Regions from separate parts of the Homo sapiens genome. Here region 2 is linked to region 1. Evidence: promoter capture Hi-C in human tissues and cell types (Jung and others, 2019). All regions are on one chromosome and are shown on one strand. The core of a region is centred on a gene start or on the middle of the fragment in contact, and the rest is flanking DNA. Distances in the headings are between cores, read along the strand shown. Region 1 holds the start of KCNG1 (potassium voltage-gated channel modifier subfamily G member 1). Region 2 has its middle 140 kb from the start of ZFP64.

Region 1 (5,792 bases), core at 1,248-3,747:
CATTTTTCACCCACAGGCTCCATTTCTGGGCTTAATGCAACAACCAAGGGTAGATTCCTGTACCCCTAGACCTCTGGCAACAGGCAATGTTGACTCTTCATCAACATTGGAAAGCAGGGTGGAGAAAGGACAGCCGAGCCAAGGTACCTACTGCGGCTCCAGGAGGTGAGTTCCTCGGAGCTGGTTTGCGTCGCTTAGCCCTGCATCCAGCACACATCTCTTTGTTCTTCTGTTTCCTGAGGCACCTCCCTCACCTCTTGCCAGAGCCCAGCTGTGGGTCTGGTGCAGAGAATTCAAAGTGGTGCTCAGATCTGCCCCAATCAGGCTCCAGGACAAGCTTCGGGAAAGTCTTTGGGGATGGGGAGAAGCAAGTAACCTCTGCCTCCCATGTCACATCTCCCTCCCAGAGGCCAAAAAGGCAACCCAGAGTTTGGCAAAACTAGGGGTTTGGTTGATTTTTTTACTCCCAAGGTTTGACAACCCAGGCTGTAGGCTGCGGGCCTGGGCTCTCAAGTCTCAGGAGAAGAACCTAGGTTGCCTCGTTTCCAGTGTGCTTGCAGTTCCCTGCAGGTTAGGAGTGTGTCCCAGGACAGACATCTTTCCCGTGGAACGGGCTGGCTTCGAGAATGACTGAGGAGGGTGATCCCCAGGGGCCAGCGCTTGCCTGTTTTTCAAACACACCTTCCCTCCTTCCCCTCCTATCAGGCGACTCTGCAGGGCTCCAAAAGCCGGGGGAGGCACAAATAGAGCTCAGGTCTGGCAGAGCCTGAAAAATCCCCCAAAGAAGGACAGCATGCCCTAGCCACAGTGCCGACCGCAAGGCCCCAATCAGCAGTGCCAAACTTTTCTTGGAGATGTGCTGCCGGTGAGGCTCTTCATAGGGACTCTGCCATCATGGGTATGGGGGTATCAAACACACACTAATGAATAAACCTCTGCTCAGATTCATAGGGCAGGAACTTCCCCCACCCCACAATGAATCAGACCAGTTCCTGCTCCCTCCTCTTACTTCCCCCTGTACTTATCTCAGGGAGTCAGCAAAGGGGGTGGGGGCGTCTGTGTCTGTCTCCCTCTTCTATGTGTCTGTCATTTACCTGGGTAACTTTGGTGCCTGGCACCCTTTAAGTGCTTAATAACAGCGAGTGCTTAAGAAAATGCCTGCTGAATGGACAACCTAACTCATAAACCCCATTGGTGGGAACCTGCATTCCTCAGTAATGTCGGATCAGTGTTTCTCAACTCCTCCCCACCCTACCCCATCACCCGCCCCTAAGGAGCTTTGAAAAGATCTTTTCTTCCTATTCTAGAACCAATTCCAGCTTCCACACCTCCCACCTTGAGAAGGAATGCATTAGATGAACCAAGACTTCTGCCTATATACATGGGCTGCTACAGTTGGCCACCCCGGCAGTCTGCGGCCTCCCAAGCGGGGGCCTGGGTCTTAATCCTTACTTCTCTCTAAGCTGCATGAAGGGTGCCCCCATTCCATCCCTCTTCACTTCTCCCCAGCATAGCGCCTCCATAAATGTTTGTGAACTGGATGAATGACTGTTGAGCGCTTGGTATGATGAGCTGCTTACAATAGGTGCTCAACCAATCTTTGTCCAATCTATGAATGAATGAATGAACTTCACCCTTTTCCTTCCATACCTCCGGGCTGAGCCTCTCTCCCACATGGAAACCCTAAGGCTGAGACCACCACCTTCCTACCAGTTCCTGGGGGTGCCCAGTGAACTGTCTCAGTATCCCCAGTGCCTAGCACACAGTAGGCGCTCAATAAACGCTTGCTGTGTTCATAATGAATGACTCAATCAGGCCCACGGTGGGGGTGAAGGGGGGCTCCATACTGTGCCTAAGGATACAGTGAATGAGCAAGTGACACACACTCCCCCACCCCAATCCCTAACTCTCCTTCCTCCCAGGATCGGGGGAGAAACCTCGGCCCACAGCCGGGATGCGCCCCCGCCGGGGTCACCGCGGCGGCGAACGTCCCGGACTTCGCATCCCGGTGACCCCTTGGGATGAACCGAAGCCGGACCCGCACCTTGGCCGTAACAAGCGCGCTCCACGCCGCCACGCACCAGCGGTGACTCCCGAGTCCTCTGTCGCCCTGGCCTCCCCGCAGGCGGGTTTCGAGGCCCCCGCAGGGAGTTCAGGGCCACGGCCACGTGCAGCCGCCCCCGAGCCCGAGTTTGCAGGCTCGGGGTCCGGTTCGCGCTTCGGTGGCGCCCGGCGAGGCTGCAGCGCGCAAAGTTCCCACCTCAAGTTCCCGTCGCGGCGTCCCCGCCTCGGAGTTGGCCCGGCCGCGGCTTCCGTTCCCCCCGGCTGCCCACGGGTCCGGGGCGAGGACGCGAGAGGGGCCTGGAAGTCGCCCGGGGAGCCCGCTCTGCCTCCCGGAGCCGCCGCCAAACTTCGGTCCCGGGGCCCGGCTCAGCTCCCGCCCTCGGAGCCACGGCCGCCCCGTCTCTGCCTCCCGGTCCCCGCCGGGCTCCGAGTGCGCCGGGAGCGCGGCGCAGCAGCCGCCGAGGGAGGGAGCGAGGCAGGAGGCGGGACGGAGGGAGGGGACTGAGCGCGGGGCGGGGAGAAGGGGCGGGCAGCCGAAAGCGCAGCGCCTGGCCTCGCCTCGCTTCGGGACAGTGGCAGCGGCGCCACCGTCACGGGGCGTCCAGGCGCCCAATCGGGACCCCGCACCTTGGATCCGGGGGCCCTGGCGCGCCTGCTGGATTGCGCTCCTCGCGGCCAGTTCCTGAGCCCGCGTCCGGGACTGCTCGCGCTACGCCCTCCCTCCCGTTGCCTTCTTCCCCGTCTGCTCTCCCAGGAGCGACCACCCTGCGGCCCCTTCGCCTGCACGCGACAGCCTTCAAGGTCCCCGCGCTCCGCTGCCCTGGAGCTTCACGCACCAGGCGGCGCGGCAGCCTCCTAGGGTCGCGCGCCCTGTCAGCTTTCCCCGCGGTGCAAGTGCTCCGGTGGTCCCGGGTCCGCGCCCCTAGCAGCACCGCCCCAGGGTCTACATGTGCTAGATATTAAAACCCCACTCTCCGCTGCCCCGGGGCCGCGCTCCACGCGCTTACACATCCTGGGAACCACATGCGCCATGTCTCCTGCCTTTCCCTGGAAGTCCTGGAAGTCCAAGTGCACTGCTGCCTCTGGGTCCCTCGCCCCCCTACCCCGGGCAAATACTGCATCCTTGAGGCCCTCCACGCGCTGCTGCCCTGGAGCCGAACGCTCCAAGCAAGCTTCCACATCCTGGGGGCCATATATCGCGCGCCTTTTCTCGACCTCCTAGACCAATGTTGCCCTTGGGCCCTTCCTGCCACCGCCACCCAGGGACTGCCAGCATCTTGCTGTGCCAAATTCCTAGGGCCAGTACGTACCGTGCCAGGTGTTTTCCCTTCCAGTCCCGCGGGGCCGAGGCCCCAGAGCCCTCCCGGGCTAGCAGAGCCGCACTTCGTCGTCCACTCCCCTGGCCGGTGCAGGGCACTTGGACCAGGTCCTGGGGTCTTGCTCCCAGTGTGGCCGCCTAGCCTCGGAGTTGGTAGGATGCTGCACAGATGCTGGAGGTTGGGTTGGAGGGATCTATTGGGTTGGAGGAATCTACTGAGTTGGAGGGACCTATTGGTTTGGAGGGATCTGTGCTGCTGGCAGGGCTGGCCTCTTAGGGTGGCTTGCCTTGCACTCCGTTCCTCTTCTCCTTTCTGTCTCTTGCACTCCGTTCCTCTTCTCCTTTCTGTCTCTTGCACTCCGTTCCTCTTTTCCTTTCTGTCTCTACTGCCTTTGCCTATCATCAGAGAACCAAGAAAGGACATGAAGAAACCCTGCTGCCGACCAGCCTGAGGCCTTCTGCTTGAGTGGGGCTCGGGTTGGGGAGTCGTGGGTGCTCATTAAGTGGGTTAGGGTTAACCCTAAGAAATGAGCGCAGGGCACACTAGCCTGCGCGGCAGTCCCAGCCGGGTGGAGCATAGGAGTTCCAGGTTATAGTGCACTATGATGGCACCACTGCAATCCAGCCTGCGTGACTGAGCGAGATCCAGCCTCTAAAACAACAAGAATAAAAACACTGGCTTACTGGTGAGGTGGAGGCCTGGACAGACAAGGATCTGCCTAAGGACCTGTTTCCAAGAGCTCACCTTCTACTGGGGGCTTGGCAGAATTGGGAAACTGCTGAAATACGTGATTGCAGAATGAAGCCAGAGAGGCCACTTTAGATAGAATAATGGGGGAGGGCTCCTGTGGAGGTGATGGTTACATGGAGCCCTGAGCCAGAAGGAGCCCATCTGGCAAGATGGGAAGAGAGCTTTCTAGGTGGACAGAACATCAAAGGCACTGGCCTTCAAGCAGGAGAGAAGGAGGCATGTCTGAGAAACATCAAAGAGACCAACCAGCAGTGTGGGGGAGGGGCCTGAGTGGGGTGGGGTGGGCTTTTGTTGTCAGAGGGTCCCTGGATTACATATTGAGAAACACTCCTCTTGTGGTGGATCAGGCTTCTGCCTTCCTTTCCCATCTGAAATTTTTTTTTTTTTTTTTTTTTTTGAGACATAGTCTCTCTGTGTCTCCCAGGCTGGAGTGCAGTGGTGTGATCTCAGCTCACTGCAACTTCCATCCCCCTGGGTTCAAGCGATTCTCCTGCCTCAGCCTCCTGAGTAGCTGGGACTACAGGTGTGTGCCACCATGCCCAGCTAATTTTTGTATTTTTAGTAGAGACGGAGTCTCACCATGTTAGCCAGGCTAGTTTTGAACTCGCAACCTCAAGTGATCCGCCAGCCTCAGCCTCCCAAAATGCTGGAATTACAGGCGTGAGCCACTGCACCCAGCCAGAAAATTGCTCTCTATCTTGTTTTTGAGACAGGGTCTGACTCTGTCACCCGCTGGAGTGCAGTGGTGCAATCATAGCTCACTGTAACCTCTAACTCCTGGGCTCTAGGGATCCTCCTGCCTCAGACTTCTGAGTAGCTGGGACTACCACACACCACCATGCACCACTAATTTAAAACAAAATATATTTTTTGCAGAGACAGGCGGGTCTGGAACTCCTAGGCTTAAGACATCCACCCACCTTGGCCTCCCAAAGTGCTGGGATTACAGATGTGAGCCGCTGCACCTGGCCATGTTTCTATCTTTTTTACTTGCGTATTATCTGTGTCCCCACTGGGGACCAAGCTCCATCAGGGCAAGGACTGTGTGCTGTCTCTCCCCTCTCCAGCAGCTCCCACTCTGCTAGGCACATACAGAGCAGGCTTCTTAAATGATTCCTGGAAATGATTCCTGGGGGAATTCAGGACAGTTTTCTGGAATAGATGTGACTGCGTCAGAGAGTCAGACTCCTCACTGATGCTCACAGGGTAAGGATGCAGAGCAGGGCCTCTCAGACTTTACTGTGCATCTGAATCCCCCTGAGGGCTTATTAAAACCCAGACGGCTGGCCCCCACCCTGGAGTGGCTGATTCAGTGGGTCTGGCGTAGGGTCCTTCTGAGGAGTTCCCTGCTGATGCTCATGCATCAGGTCTGGGGATCCCACTTTGAGAACCACTGATATTGAAGACTTGAACGCCTACCCAGCTGGGTCTGACTTCGGAGCCCTCATGAGGTCCCGGGACAAACTCAAGCCAGCTTCTTCTTATGTAGGATCCATAGGAACTAATGGCCACCTCTAGAGATGGGGCTGGGCTTATTAGAACACTATGCACCTGAGTCAAATTTCATAGTGACCTGCAGACAGAAGACCTGGTACACTGTGTGGAGACCGTCAGTGAGAACAATGACTTCCACCCGGTCCTGCCTACCCGCAACATACA
Region 2 (5,792 bases), core at 1,211-3,710, 1.0 Mb after region 1:
AAATGCAAATAAGTTCTTTGGGGGTATTATTAGAAAAAAATTAAAACTCCATTATTTGCATCATAGTGTAGGAGGATTACTTTTTAAAATAATGACTGTTTTCACCCAAACCCCCGCCCTGCTTTAGCTTCCAGACAGGTAGTTAGAGATTCACAAAAAAAGAGAAATCCTGGCTATTCTTTGAAGCTACAAACAAGCCCTGCATTTCTGTATGTTCTTAGAAAAAGCTCTGGCCAGGCAGTTTTTTTGTGTGTGTGATCACACCAGTAGCATCACTGAGTTCAAAGTGGGGGGAAAACCCATTTTAACAATGCAAGAATTTCCCAAAGTCCAAACGCCCGGGCCACACCGCTCCCACAAATGGAAATAGTATCAGATCTGCATCATAATTGATCCTCCAGATTTCCACCCACAAAAGAAGGATGTGGTCAGTAAGAACAAATAACACAGGGGCCGCGGAGAGAAGCTTTTTTGCAAACTTTCCCCTCACTCCACCCACAAAAGTCAGGCAACCGACGTACATGTCAGCATAATCGCTCAAGATATGATCGCGTTTGAGGCTTATGAAATGTTATCAAACGCAGTGGACAAGCACATCGGCGATATTTCTTTTTTCCGCTGAGATGTGAACTGCTGATAAATATCCATGGTTGAGTTTTTTCCATACTTTGATTCTTCAAAAGCTAAGCCATTCAAGGTGTCAAGGCTTTTTGCCCCTGCCTTCCACAGACAACAAGGGGGAGAAAAAAGAAAAAAAGAAAAAAGAGGATGAAAATGAGGGGGAATAAGAGAAAAAAAAATGGACACAGATAAAAGAAATTAAGCGAGCCATAATGTCTGTGCTTTATTTTAACTGGGTTGTCCTGTCCCGCTGTGCAGCCCATAATCCAAGCTGGGAGAGAGGCCCCCGCTGGGTAGCTAATTAAAACAATTATAAATACAAAGAAGGTATCAATGGCATTCCAAGACTCAAACAAAGAGATAAAGCACTGAAGATTTAAATTGTCAATGGCCAGTCTCTTTAGGCAATTCTGAAGAGGAGTCAGTGTCCCCAAGTCCCCCGAACTCCTTTGTAAACTGACTTATGTTTGGTTACAGGGGACCCTCCTCCCTCCTTTTTGGGGGGCTTATCGACATGAAAATTCATCAGTGATGGAATTAAGGGAAGTTAATTTATAGGCTCACATACAGTTATTTGTCCTGGCGCGTCAGAATAGTGGACCTGAGTTTAAAATTAAAATCTAATCTGGAAAAAAGACCCCAGCCCTCCTTATTGAATCAGTATTTTTATTCGTATTTTTTGGCAAGAAATTAGATGCAGGTATCAGTATTTTTAAAGACAAGAAAACAAACAAAAAGATCTTTTAGCCCCAATTGAAAGTGACACAAACCGTTTTTTTTTTTTTTAAGTACTGTGGGCAACTTTAGGAATGTTAAAAATGTAGCAAGTGTGCTAGACTACTTTCTCAGTGTATTTTTATAAAATGATTTGCAGAATCAAACTTACCCAACAAAAATAGAAAGCTTTCCTAATTTCTTAGACCTAGGATTTCCCCTGCCTGCTTTCTGGCTTTTGTAGAGCACTTAAAGGAACACTCAAATCATACATGCTAAGAGATAGCAGCCCAGTGCAGTTTAAAGGGACTCTCAGCCTACAGTCTGAACGAATAGAATGGATCGCAGAAGTTTCCAGGTGGGTCCCTTGGAGAGGGTGGTCAGTTTGCTCTCAAGAGCTGGGTGTGATCAGCGACAGCCTGAGCTCCAGGGCCTGGCCAGTGTGCTACAGGAGAGAGAGCCAAAGGCCTCAGCTCTTAGAAGGCTCACTCGGCCTCAGCTCTTAGAAGGCTCACTCTGAAAAGGAGGTGGTGACAGCAACTCTGGTCCTTCTTTTCACCATGAAAGAAAGCGCAGTAACTGGTGTAACTGGTAAAAGCCAAAAGGGAGGGAGGCAATTAAGGTCGAGGAGACTGATAAGAACTCAGTAGGGGTCAGAGCCCTTCTCCTACTCCTTCACCCACCCTCCTCTGCTCCTTTCTCAGCTCCTCCCACTACCACTCCTTTTTCTTCTCCCCTCTTCCCCTCCTCCTTTTCCCTCCTTTTCTTCTTCTTCTAATTCCTCTTCCCTCTTTTTTTTTTTTTCTTTTTTTTGAGACGAAGTCTTATTCTCTTGCCCAGGCTGGAGTGCAGTGGTGTGATCTTGGCTCCTTCCAACCTCAGCCTCCCGGGTTCAAGCGATTCTCCTGACTCAGCCTCCCAAGTAGCTGGGATTACAGGCGAGTGCCACCATGCTGGGGTAATTTTTGTATTTTTAGTAGAGACAGGGTTTCACCATGTTGGCCAGGCCAGTCTCGAACTCCTGACCTCAAGTGATCCACCCACCTCAGCCTCCCATAGTACTGGGATTACAGGCGTGAGCCACCATGCCCGGCCTCCTCTTTTAATCTTCCTCCTCCTGGCTGGGCATGGTGGCTCACGCCTATAATCCCAGCACTTTGGGAGGCTGAGGCAGGCGGATCACGAGGTCAGGAGTTCGAGACCAGCCTGGCCAACATGGTGAAACCCCGTCTCTAGGAAAAATACAAAAAATTAGCTGGGCATGGTGGCGCATGCCTCTAATCCCAGCTACCTGGGAAGCTGAGGCAGGAGAATCGCTTGAACCCAGGAGGCAGAGGTTGCAGTGAGTGGAGATCATGCCACTGCACTCCAGCCTGGACGACAGTGTGAGACTCCGTCTCAAAAATAAATAAATCTTCCTCCTCCAATTCTTCTTCTTATCTTCCTTCTCCTTTATCTTCTTTTCCTTCTCTTCCTCCTTATACTTTTTTCCCTTCTTCCTCTTCTCCTTCTGCTTCTCCCCTTCCTCCTCCTTCCTCCTCCTCTTTCTCCTCTTCTTCCTTTTTTACTTTGCCTCTATTTGTAAGGAGATTGAGACTTTCTTCTTTAGGAATATCCATGGCTTTTCACTCTTTGCCTTTGTGCAAGTAATTGGAAGATGTGCTTCTTTCCTGGGTGGAAATATTATCAATAAAAAAGATGGAGGTCTGAGACTGAATGGAAACATTGGCCTGAAGCATTTGCCACAGGTGATGGTGATTACCAAAAAGAAAAATGGGATTTGACCAGAATGACTTTGTTTTCTGGGCTAAAAACTTTGCCTAATAAAGCACCTTAGCTGATGTATGTATTTATGAGTTATTATGTGTCTAGAGTATTAACATAAAGTACAGAGGCTCCTCTGGTTATGAATGTTCAATTCAGAACTGATTTGAACAAAAAGTCCACACGGAAGCAAAAGTGTGGCCGGGCGCGGTGGCTCAAGCCTGTAATCCCAGAACTTTGGGAGGCTGAGGTGGGCGGATCACCTGAGGTCGGGAGTTCCAGACCTGCCTGACCAACATGGTGAAACCTCGTCTCTACTAAAAAAATACAAAAATAGCCGGGCGTGGTGGCGCATGCCTGTAATCCCAGCTACTCGGGAGGCTGAGGCAGGAGAATCGCTTGAACCCAGGAGGTAGAGGTTGCGGTGAGCCAAGATCGCGCCATTGCACTCCAGCATGGGCAACAAGAACAAAACTCTGTCCCCCACCGCCCCCAAAAAAAGAAGCAAAAGAGTGATAATTCAGCCCATTGCCAACACAGGGCGATAGATACTGGGATCTGACATTTACTTCTCAAAGTTTCTGGGGTGAGACAAGGACTGAAACTCGCTTAAGAGGCAGAGCAAGACAGACGGGCAGATTTTTCAACCATGTTTGTGGGCCATAGCCCACATATCATATGCTGGAATGTGTAAAAATAAAAAAATCAATCTTAAATAAAACATTTTATCCTCCTACTTTGACAAGTATACATTCATAATGACAGAAGCAAAACATATCTGTCAAGCTATGGTTTACATATGATTAAAAGTCAGAAAACTATCAAAGATGAGGGAATTTAATTATTATTGCATATGTCTGGGTGTTGTATTGCTGGGCCTCTGATATTATTAGTATGAGTAACAAACATAATTAATAAATTATTATATATTTATTCCATAACATTTCTTTTTTTTGTGTTGATTTCAGCAAAATCACTAAATGTGTAGTGATCAAGTTTTTACATAATTTATGTTCTACTGACCTGGATGTGGCAATTTTTTTTTTTTTTTTTTTGGTAAAGAGCCAGGTAGTACTAGGCTTTGTGGTCCATACATGCTTCTTTGTTTTACAAATCTTTAAAAATATTAAAAAAATAGGCCAGGCACGGTGGCTCGTGCCTGTAATCATAGCATTTCAGAAGGCTAAGGCAGGAGAATCACTTGAGCCCACGAGTTTGAGACCAGCCTGGGCAACAGAGCAAGACCTCGTTTCTATAAAAAATAAAAAAATTAGCTGGGCGTGGTGGCACATGCCTGTGGTCCCAGCTATTTGGGAGGCTGGGGCAGGAGGAGGAGGATTGCTTGAGTCCAGGAGGTCGAGGCTGCAGTGAGCTGTGATCATGCCACTGCATTCCATCTAGGCAACATAGCAACACCCTGTCTCAAAAAAAATTTATAAAATATTTATTAAAATACTTGTAAAATATTGTATATTTAATATTTATAAAATACTTTATATTTATATATTTATAAAAAATTATTTAAAATATTTATATGTTACATATATAAATATGTGCAATTTGTATATGTAATATATAAATATTTTAAAGAAATTTTAAAATATTACATATATAAATATATGAATATACAAAAATACCTAATAAATATATATTTGTATACTGTATATATACCATTCTTAGTTCATGGGTTAAATTCAGCCCTTAGGCTGTCATTTGCTGGCCTTTGCTATTGACAATAATCATCTAAAAGGTGAAAAAAATGAAATGCAATTATATTTATTTACTTTTTGAGACGATGTCTCGCTCTGTCGCCCAGGCTGGAGTGCAGTGGCGCGATCTCGGTTCACTGCAAGCTCCACCTTCCAGGTTCACGCCATTCTCCTGCCTCAGCCTCCCGAGTAACTGGGACTACAGGCGCCTGCCACCATGCCCGGCTAATGTTTTGTGTTTTTAGTAGAGATGGGGTTTCACCGTGTTAGCCAGGATGGTCTCGATCTCCTGACCTCATGATCCGCCCGCCTCGGCCTCCCAAAGTCTGGGATTACAGGCGTGAGCCACCGCGCCCGGCCTGAAATGCAATTATAAAGTATAAAAAATTTTAAAAAGTAAACCAAAAAACTCATAAATGTTTACAAATATTTTTCTTCTAAAATATTCAAAATATTTAAGATGGGAAAGTAAAATACACGATAATTGATATTAAGCCTTCATATCAAAATTAAAGAAAATGTAAATATATTTTTTAAAGTTTTGGCTAAATCCCACTAAATATTTCTTATAAAAATAAAACTAGCTTCAATTCCGGAATTCAGTGTCCATCTATAGTTGCCAATGTGAAGAATCTGTAGGCATGTTAGTTACATCAAGGCCAATGTATAAGCAGATTCAAGAATAATCTGGGGTTGGGTGCAGTGGCTCACATCTGTAATCCCAGCACTTTGGGAGGCCGAGGCGGGTGGATCACTTGAGGTCAGGCATTCAAGACCAGCCTGGACCAACATGGCCAGACGCCGTCTCTGCTAAAAATATAAAATTAGCTGGGCATGGCGGTGCGCGCCTGTAATCCCAGGTACCTCAGGAGGCTGAGGCAGGAGAATCGTTTGAAACCAGCGGGTGGAGGTTGCAGTGAGCCGAGATTGTGCCAGTGCACTCCAGGGTGGGCGACAGAATGAGACTCCATCTCAAAAAAAATT

What was found. The method cuts DNA at HindIII sites, captures the fragments that hold promoters and counts their contacts. A contact is called where the count stands out against the background at its distance.
Region 2: a contact is called between a fragment that was not itself captured here and the fragment with the promoter of KCNG1 in region 1, in 1 of the 25 tissues and cell types used here (mesendoderm cells).

Annotation. Positions count from the first base shown.
Region 1 is chr20:51,020,610-51,026,401 of GRCh38, forward strand. KCNG1 (potassium voltage-gated channel modifier subfamily G member 1) reads right to left here and starts at 2,498. Exons shown (of 3, transcript NM_002237.4): 1 at 2,261-2,498. RefSeq lists an enhancer at 139-702 and a silencer at 2,427-2,596. The HindIII fragment of the contact is 10,697 bases long and covers 1-4,632 here.
Region 2 is chr20:52,047,617-52,053,408 of GRCh38, forward strand. No RefSeq gene overlaps it. Among named protein-coding and RNA genes, the nearest start is that of ZFP64, 140 kb to the right of the region's middle. RefSeq lists enhancers at 238-757, 758-1,275, 1,276-1,794, 1,795-2,312. The HindIII fragment of the contact is 5,629 bases long and covers 1-5,275 here.